Regions from separate parts of the Homo sapiens genome. Here region 2 is linked to region 1. Evidence: promoter capture Hi-C in 16 types of primary human blood cells and fetal thymus (Javierre and others, 2016). All regions are on one chromosome and are shown on one strand. Each heading gives the region's core, a stretch centred on a gene start or on the middle of the fragment in contact. The rest is flanking DNA. Distances are from core to core; before and after follow the strand shown.

What was found. The method cuts DNA at HindIII sites, captures the fragments that hold promoters and counts their contacts. A CHiCAGO score of 5 or more calls a contact.
Region 2: a fragment that was not itself captured here is called in contact with the fragment with the promoter of ADGRG3 in region 1 in 1 of 17 cell types (megakaryocytes); the score reaches 5.1 in megakaryocytes.

What each region holds. Positions count from the first base shown.
Region 1 is chr16:57,666,505-57,670,914 of GRCh38, forward strand. ADGRG3 (adhesion G protein-coupled receptor G3) reads left to right here and starts at 1,802. Exons shown (of 12, transcript NM_170776.5): 1 at 1,802-1,901. The coding sequence starts at 1,844. The HindIII fragment of the contact is 25,338 bases long and covers 1-4,410 here.
Region 2 is chr16:57,871,596-57,876,005 of GRCh38, forward strand. No RefSeq gene overlaps it. Among named protein-coding and RNA genes, the nearest start is that of KIFC3, 71 kb to the left of the region's middle. RefSeq lists an enhancer at 1,539-2,066. The HindIII fragment of the contact is 1,231 bases long and covers 1,646-2,876 here.

The sequences.
Region 1 (4,410 bases), core at 552-3,051:
GGAAATGGATTGGAGCAGCTGAGGGCTGAATGCTGGCTGGGTCTCGCTGGAGGACTTGAGGCCCTGCCCACTGGAGCCATTGGGAGAAGCTGGGGCAGGAGGCGGCAGGAAGGGACACTACTGTTTTGTTGGCCCTGGGGTTGGGGGGGGTCTCAGGGTTCTGTGAGTGGCTCCAGGCTAGTCCCTGGTCCCCAGGGGGCGTTTCAGGGAAGGGGCCTTAGGAAAAGGTGGCCCTCCTTCCAGCCCTGCCTGACCTTCCCCTGCACCTGCCCTCTGCCCACTTCCCAGGTGGGCTGGCTGCTCGGAATCTCAGTCTGCTCACCCCCAGGCGCTTCTTCACACACTGGTACCTGCGAGCCTCTCTGAGGGCCCAGGTGCCAGGATGGGGCTTCAGCGATGGGCCCAGCACATCCAAGTCCACTGCCCCACCTCACCCTCACCTGCAGCTGGGAGGGAGGTCTGCAGATCTTCCAGGAGAAGGCTGGCCAGGTGTGGAGCAGTGGCAGGCCCAGCCATTCATCTGCCTTCGCAGCCCTCCCTGCAGAGGAAGTTTCTGGGGCTCAGGAAGCCCTGGGCTCTGACCTGCTGCTCCATGCTGAATTCCCACCTGCTCCCACACCATGAGTGACCCTGACATCCCCTCCCTACCCCTTCCCAGACCCAGAGGGCTCAGCAGGAGACACTGAGTGGGAGGAGGAGGAAATGGAGGCCAGCAGGGGCTGAGCGGCTCCCCAGTTCAATCCCAAGGCTGAGTAGGGCTAGTGCCAGCCCCGTGGGCCAGAGGGGGATGCCAGCAACCACACACCTTGGTGGGATGCCCTTCACCTTCCAATTGCCAAGTGGCCATGGCCTCATGCACAGTGCATCCGTGGGGCCTCCAGAGTTGGCCCGAGTGGCTGGCGCCCTAATTCCTTTAGGCTGAAGCCCAGGAGTGTTTGCCACCCCCACCTCCCACCTGATCAGTGACCATTTGGGGTGTAAAGACAACAATTTCACAGCTCTGATGATCAGAAATGATGTAATGGCCACAGGCGGCTCCGCCTGCGTCATCCATGATTTCATCACACACCTCGGGAGGCTCAGGGTGACAGACAGTGCATGCAAGGTCACCCGGCCAGGAAGTGGCCAGGATGGATGTTAGCTCAGGCCTGACCAGCCCCCGGGGCCGCACTGCTGTCTTCCCGCTACCCTGCCTCTGGGTCCGTCCTGTTATCCAGGCTGGTGGGGGAAGCTCAGGCTGCAGGGCCAGCTCCTGCTCTCCTCCCACACCCTCCAGCCTGGTTCAAGCCATAGGCACCATCTGGGTCTTCGTCCTCATGCCCAGAGCCAGGCTCTGTGCCCAGCTTGTTGCAGGTCTCATCAAACCCTGACACAGCCTTAGGAGGCAGCCCCATTGCCATCTTCACTTTACAGAGGAGGAAACTGAGGCTCAGAGAGGCTCCCAGCTTGTGAGAGGAGGGGTCTGAGTAGGTGCGCCTGACTCCAAAGCCTGTGCTCACCACAGTTCCCAGGGATCCGCTCTGAGCCAGGCCCCTGTGGCCACCCAGCCCCTAGCCCCGTAGATCCCACCCCAGTGGGGCCCCGGGGGCACATACCTGGGTGGGCTCAGCAGCTCCCTCTGCAGGTGGACCCAGGGTGCGGTGAGACTGGGAGCACTGCCCAGTTCCCCACACTCACCTTTCACAACCCAACCAATGGCGCCATCGAGCAGGAAGGGTGAGAAAGAGGACACAGGAAGCCAGAGTGGTGGGGCTGCAGGGTGGGGGCAGGCCAGCTCAGCAGAGCCTGGGGCCAGAGGGCCAGACAGCCACAGAGCTCCTGGCGTGGGCAAGGCTGGCCAAGGATGGCGACGCCCAGGGGCCTGGGGGCCCTGCTCCTGCTCCTCCTGCTCCCGACCTCAGGTGAGTGGCTGGCACCTCATCCCCTCCTGCCACGCTGGGCCGACCCTGCCCTGCCGAGGGAGGGATCCAGGGACAGACGCAGGGACTGGAGAAGGTGAGGAGTTGGGGTGTCTGGGATGTGTCCTCCGATACCCCCCGTGGCCGCCTCAGCACCTTCTCTAGCCCTGTCCCTTTGGGTCAGTCCTGTCCTTCCACTAAACCTTGCTCAGGACTGGTCTCAGGTTCCCTTTGTTGCTCCACAGTGCCCTGGAGATAGGGGAGGTCGGAGGGTGCTCCCTGACTCCCCAACCTGGGCTGTGTCTCCCTGACAGGCCTGGCTCTGAGACAGGGGTTGGCCCCGGGCAGGCAATTCTCCAGCTGGCTTGTGAGATCCTGGGGACGGGATTCAGACACTCTGGAAGCTGAGGCCAGGAAGGTCTGTCACCTCGTTCTTCTGGACCTCTCCTCCCGCACATGTCACCCCACACCGGCTCCCTCTCCCAGTCTCAGCCACAACCTCTTGGTCCTCAGTGGCCTGAGCCAGGATCCACACTCCTCCCCGTCACTCTCCCGTCTCACACACAAACACATGGTGCGTCTCCAGAGGCCATGGAAGTGCCCGGGCCTTGCCTTTGCTGGCCTCTCTCCCAGGAAAGCTGTCCCCCTACCCCTTGCCCACTTAGCCAGCTCCATTTACCCTTCTTGGCCTCTGTGGCGTCTTAGCAACCCTCTCGGACAGAGGGAGGTGCTCCCCCGTTAGTGCTCCCTCCTCAGTGCTCCTGTCTCAGGGCCTTGCAGGCCACTCTCTTTTTGCTCCTGACTCGGTGAGGGGCCTGCATGTCCATCTCCCTGTGTGTCCAGCGTGTGGTCGCGTGACTTTGGCCACATAGATCAACTTATTTGGTCTTCAAATAACCCTCTTCTTTTCAAACATTGGAAGATTCAGTGGAGTGAATCAGTCCCTGGCTCAAAAAAGGGTGGGAGATGACAGCACTGTCCTCCTAGTGGCCCCGGGAGGCCCTGGTACAGAGCAGGCCACCAGGCAGCCCTTGATAGATGAATGAACGGAGCCACCGATGGCAGCTGTGACCAGGGCTCATGGGCGTCCTCAGGTCCCAGCTGTCATCGCTGGTTGGGCCTTCAAGCCTCCTCCAGGTGATGCTGTTTCCCCCATGGTGATGTGGGTGCTCTGGTTGGGGCAGAGCAGCAGCCATTTGATTGAGCAAGGAGCTCTGAGAGGTCTACACACAGGAAGGTCTGCACACTTCCTGTGTGGACAGTGATGTGTTAGTCTCCATTCTCCATTTGCGCATTCATTCATTCATTCATTCATTCAGGAAGCATCGATGGTGCCCTCTGCTCCTGCTGGTACCACTTGGCCCCTGCCCTCAAAAGGCTCACAGTCTGCAGGAGTGACACAGTGTGGTGGGGGCTCGCATGTGAGACCCAGCTGTTAGGGCTGAGCAAGGGGTGGATGCAATGGAGGGCCTGGCATGAAGGGACACGTGACAAAGGTGCGGGCAGGGCACGGGGAGCAAGGAGGGTGGTCACTGGGCAGGCTGGCACCTGGGGCAGCCTTCAGCACCGTGAGGTCTAAAGGGGCCAGGAGGGAGTGGCCCCCTGGGCTTCTACAGCCAGACTGTGGCTACAGGAGGGAAATGGCGGTGGTTTGCTCACGGTGAGCCAGCAGGGGCTGAAGGAGCCATGCGGGGTGGGGGCAAATGCCCACTCTGCCCTCCTCCTGCCCTCTGACCTCCAGTCCACTTTCCACTTGCTGACCCCCAAATGAGGCAGTCCATGGAGGCCAGGCTCTGGAGCATAGAGGGTCTGGAGAGGAGGGGAGTGCTATCCCACCCACAGGCCTAGCACAGGGTCTCCTTGTCTACATGAAATGCTTGCAGTGTCTTCAAAGAATAAACACAGAAAAGATATTTAATGATCCTGTCTGTGTAGGGTGCTTGCCAAGAGCTTCACTTACATGCCTGCGCTGAAATTCATGGCAATCCGGGAGGGAGGCCTGCACCTGGACCCATTCATGACAGCAGGGCCGGGATGGCAGAGAATGGCACCCGTCCTCAAGCTGACAATGTTATCTCCCCTCCTCTCCTGTCCTCTTCCTTCCCCTCTCAACCCCTCCTCCCCTCTCCTCTCTTCCCTCTCCCTGTTTCTGTCTTCTTCCTCCTCTCCCTCTTCTCCCCTTTTTTAAAAAGCCAACATAGATCATACTATATTCATGCTCATCTATCATTTTCATTTCCCATTAAACAATGCATCATAAATATCTTTATAAACTAACAGAAATTTACAGTTCCTTTATAAACTATCTAAAACGAATTATCACATATAGAGTCCATTATTACAAAATCCCCTCTAAAATGTTATTTTTTTACCCTGCTGTTACTCTTTATTCAGCCATTATTTTTATCATGTCTTTTTTGTCTTAATGATTAAAAATGAACAGTTTTTTAAAAAATGTGACAGTAATACTGGACATGATTTTTAAAAAATCAAATACCAGGGAGGGAAATAA
Region 2 (4,410 bases), core at 1,011-3,510, 210 kb after region 1:
AATCTGAGAAATTCTATGATTCAACAAGCATTTTTCTTTGTTTCTGTGTTTACAGGCATTACTCATATCTGGAAGAATCATCCCAGACTGCAATGAATAATTCAAATCTGAATCATACCAAGGTTCTAATCCCCTTTTCTCATCTTCAAATAGTGCTTTTTCTTTTTTCTTAATCTTCTTCTTCTTCTTTTTTTTTTTTTTTTTTTTTTGAGACAGAGTCTTACTCTGTCTCTTAGGCTGGAGTGCAGTGGCGTGATCTTGGCTCACTACAATCTCCACCTCCTGGGTTCAAGTGATTCTGCTGCCTTAGCTTCCAAAGTAGCTGGGACTACAGGCGCATGCCACCATTCCCGGCTAAGTTTCGTATTTTTAGTAGAGACGGGGTTTCACCATGTTGGCCAGGCTGGTCTCGAGCTCCTGACCTCATGTGATCCACCCGCCTCAGCCTCCCAAAGTGCTGGGATTACAGGTGTGAGCCACCAAGCCTGGCCCAAAAAGTGATTTTCCATGGTCATTGTGCAATGCTCTTGCGGAGTAATTAGAAATAAAAGACCTACAAACACTCTCAGTTCTATCCTTTCAAGTAAATTTAGATTCAGGTGGAATGCAAAGTATTATCTCTGGTGCAAATTTTGTGGCTCATACTTCCTCCTGGCAGCTTGTTTTTTGTTGTTGTTGTTGTTTGTTTGTTTTGTTTTGTGGGTGCTGTTCATGACTAATTTGCCAAAAGTCATCCAATATATTATCATATTATCCTTCACTGAATTGAGGCCAATCTAATTTTTTTTTTGAGATAGGGTCTCTCTCTGTCCCCCAAACTGGAATGCAGTGGTACCATCACAGTTCACTGCAGCCTCGACTTCCTGGGCTCAAGCAATCCTCACACCTCAGCCTTCTGACTAGCTGGGACTATAGGCATGTGCCACCACCCCTGGCTAATTTTTATTATATATATATATTTGGTGGAGTCGGGTTTTCGCCATGTTACCTAGACTGGTATTGAACTCCTGGGCTCAAGTGATCCTGCTGCCTCAGCCTCTCAAAGTGCTGTGGTTACAGGTGTGAGCCAGCGCACCTGGCCCTGATTTTAAAACTTATTACTTACATTTGACTTATATGTGGAAGTTTTCCATGGTATCTGAATTATTCTTTTGAACCTGCCTGGAAACACTTCACGTGACCCTCTCCTCTACCCACTTTTCATTAAGGAACACTTGATTTCAGAAATTTGGAAATGCGGCTGGGTGCGGTGGATCATTTGAGGTCAGGAGTTCAAGACCAGCCTAGCCAGCATGGTGAAACACTGTCTCCACTAAAAATACAAAGATTAGCCGGGCGGTAGTGGCGCGCACCTGTATTTCTAGACACTCTGGAGGCGGAGGCAGGAGAATTGCTTTAGTCTGGGAGGCGGAGGTTGCGGTGAGCCAAGATTGCACCACTGCACTCAAGCCTGGGCGACAGAGCGAGACTCTGTCAAAAAAAAAAAAAAAAAAAAAAAGAAAAGAAAAAAGAAAGGAAGGAAGGAAGGAAAGAAAAGGAAGAAATTTGGAAATGTGAAAGGTGGGGACCCAGTCTCCCGAGACTCTTGATAATGCGCTCTGGAGCCATTTGTCTAGTTAACTGCCTTGATTAGAAAGGATCCTAAAGCTTCTCTCACCTCCCTCCGGGAGACGGCCAAATGGCCACAGCCGAGCCTAGGTCTCTTGGCTAGCTCCAAAATGCCGGGAAGACTCCGGCGCTATCTCCCTAGGTATTTATATGTCAAAGGGAGAAAGTCCCAGAACTTGAAGACCCCTCCAGGTGGTTAAAGCTGAGACACCTGGGGCTATCTCGTTCCGGGTGAGGCTTTATTTACATATCAAAGGGCTGGGGTTAGGTTTCGGGCCCATTAAGTTTCCAAGGAGACCCTTTCAAAAAGGGAGGGGAATAGCTACCTCCTTCGCCTTTATAAGCAGAGAAAACTTGTCCTTCATCTATGGAGTGTCAGGCTACTTGCACGGGACATTTCCTGGCCAGGAGTAAGGCTTAAGGGGAGGCTGGGAGCGGAGGCTATGTACTTATTATTTGCTAAAAGGTAATTAATATAAAATCTGTCTCTGATCCCAAACACCTGTGTGTGTGCATTCAGGATAAAATTAATAAAGATAAATATTAAAAAACCACTGGCAGGCCAGACGTGGTGGCTCACATCTGTAATCTCAACACTTTGGGAGGCCAAGATGAAAGGATTGTTTGAGTTAGGGAGTTCGAGACCAGCCTGGGCAACATAGGGAGACCCCCGACTTGTCCCCACCACCCCCTATCCCCCGTCTCTACAAATAGTTAAAAAAAAATAGCCAGGTGTGGAGGTGCATGTCTGTGGCAGGAGGATCACCTGAGTCCTGGAGGTCGAGGCTGCAGTGAGCTGTGATTGAACCACTGTACTCCAGCGTGGGTGACAGAGCAAGACCCTGTCTCAAAAACAAGAACAATGAAACACTGACAGGACAGGCTGGACGTGGTCGTACATGCCTGTAATCCCAGCAAGGAGGCAGAAGGATTGCTTGAGGCATGGAGTTCTAGACCAGTCTGGGCAACATAATGATACCCCATCTCTATAAAAAACAAAAACCACTAACAGCAGCCTGGGGTGGGTGCTTTCCCTCTTCCTCCACCAATCATGATTGGCTCTGGAGAAGGGGCATGCCAGGATGGCTCTGGCCCAAGGTTGGCCCTAGAGGGTGCAGCCCCAATTGCTCTGGGCAGGAGAGACACTCATCCTCACCTTGCAGAATTGCCAGATAAAAACACAGGGCACCAAGTTGAATTTGAATTTTGGATAAATAACAATTTTTTTTAGCATAAGTATATCCCAAGTATTGCATGAGATATACTTAAGCTTAAAAAAAAAAACCTTCATTGTTTATCTGAAATTCAAATTTACCTGGGCTTTCTGTATTTTTACTTGCTAAATCTGGAACTCAACCATGGTGACCAGGGAAGAGGACCCCCTGGAGATGCCAACACCTTATGCCCATTGAAAGAATAATACAAGGGCTAGGAGCAATGGCTGACGCCTGTAATCCCAGTACTTTGGGAGCCCAAGGTGGCAGGATCACTTGAGGTCAGGAGTTCGAAACCAGCCTGGCCATCATGGTGAAACCGCATCTCTACCAAAAATACAAAAATTAGCCGGAAATCACTTGAACTCGGGAGGCAGAGGTTGTAGTAAGCTGAGATCACGCCATTGCACTCCAGCCTGGGCAACAGAACAATACTCCATCTCAAAAAATAAATAAATTAAATAAGGGCACTCAGGCCGTCTTTCTTTTCATTTCAGAAGAGATATCGAAGGAGATAGTGCTCAGGAAATTGAATCTAGGAAATGTTACTCACAATTTTTTGGTTACAATGAGTTTATCAAGCATCCTTTGAATCTTCTTCCTTTTTTTTTCTTTTTTTTTTAACAGAGTCTTGCTCTGTCACCCAGGCTGGAGTAGTACAGTGGTGTGATCTCGGCTCACCACAACCTCCACCTCTCGGGTTCAAGCAATTCTCCTGCCTCAGCCTCCCGAGCATCTGGGACCACACACGCGTGCCACCACGCCCGGCTACTTTTTGTATTTTTAGTAGAGTAGGGGTGTCAGCATCTTGGCCAGGCTGGTCTTGAACTCCTGACCTCATGTGATCCACCCGTCTCAGCCTCCCAAAGTGCTGGGATTACTGCGCCTGGCCCTGAATCTTCTCATAACAACCTGGAAGGATTATTTTCTTCCTCCCAACTTAGGGATGAAACACCTGAGGCCAGAAAGTAACTAGAACAGTGTTTGGCACAAAGAAAGAATTTTTAAAAATATTTATTGAATGAATGAAAGTTACCCAGGTGTGATTTCACTGCAGGTTGGTGGCAGAAGCAGAACAGTGGCCTTCGGGTTCTTTTCTCATGGCTGTTTCTGTCTCTAGCCAAGGTGCTGATTCCCTGAGAATAAATCCCTTTGCTGTCTTAAGTTTGAATTTTCTCATCTATTATTTGGGTCTGATCATTTGCTTCTTGATCACGCAGCAGCGTGGACAAGACTATCTGAATGGGGAAAAAGTTTCCAAAGCCCTAAAGCACTGTCACCTTTGTTCTCGGTCCAGTAGTAAAAGGCAGCAATGAGGCAGGGCGTCCAAAGGGTTATTGATGAGGAGGTTTCTGTCCCAGGGGGCTTTGCTGTGGTGTCAGGACAGTGAGGGAGCTGGGAAGTACCTAGGGGGCATGAGGCTTGATGCTCCAGTTCTCCTTGCTGGTGAATCACTCTCTCGCATTGGGCTGGCCATCCACAGACAGGTGTTTGAATTTCATCTTGGTCAAAACAGCCCCCTCAGCCAGGCATGGTGGCACATGCCTGTGATCCCAGCACTTTGGGAGGCCAAAGTGGGCACATCACC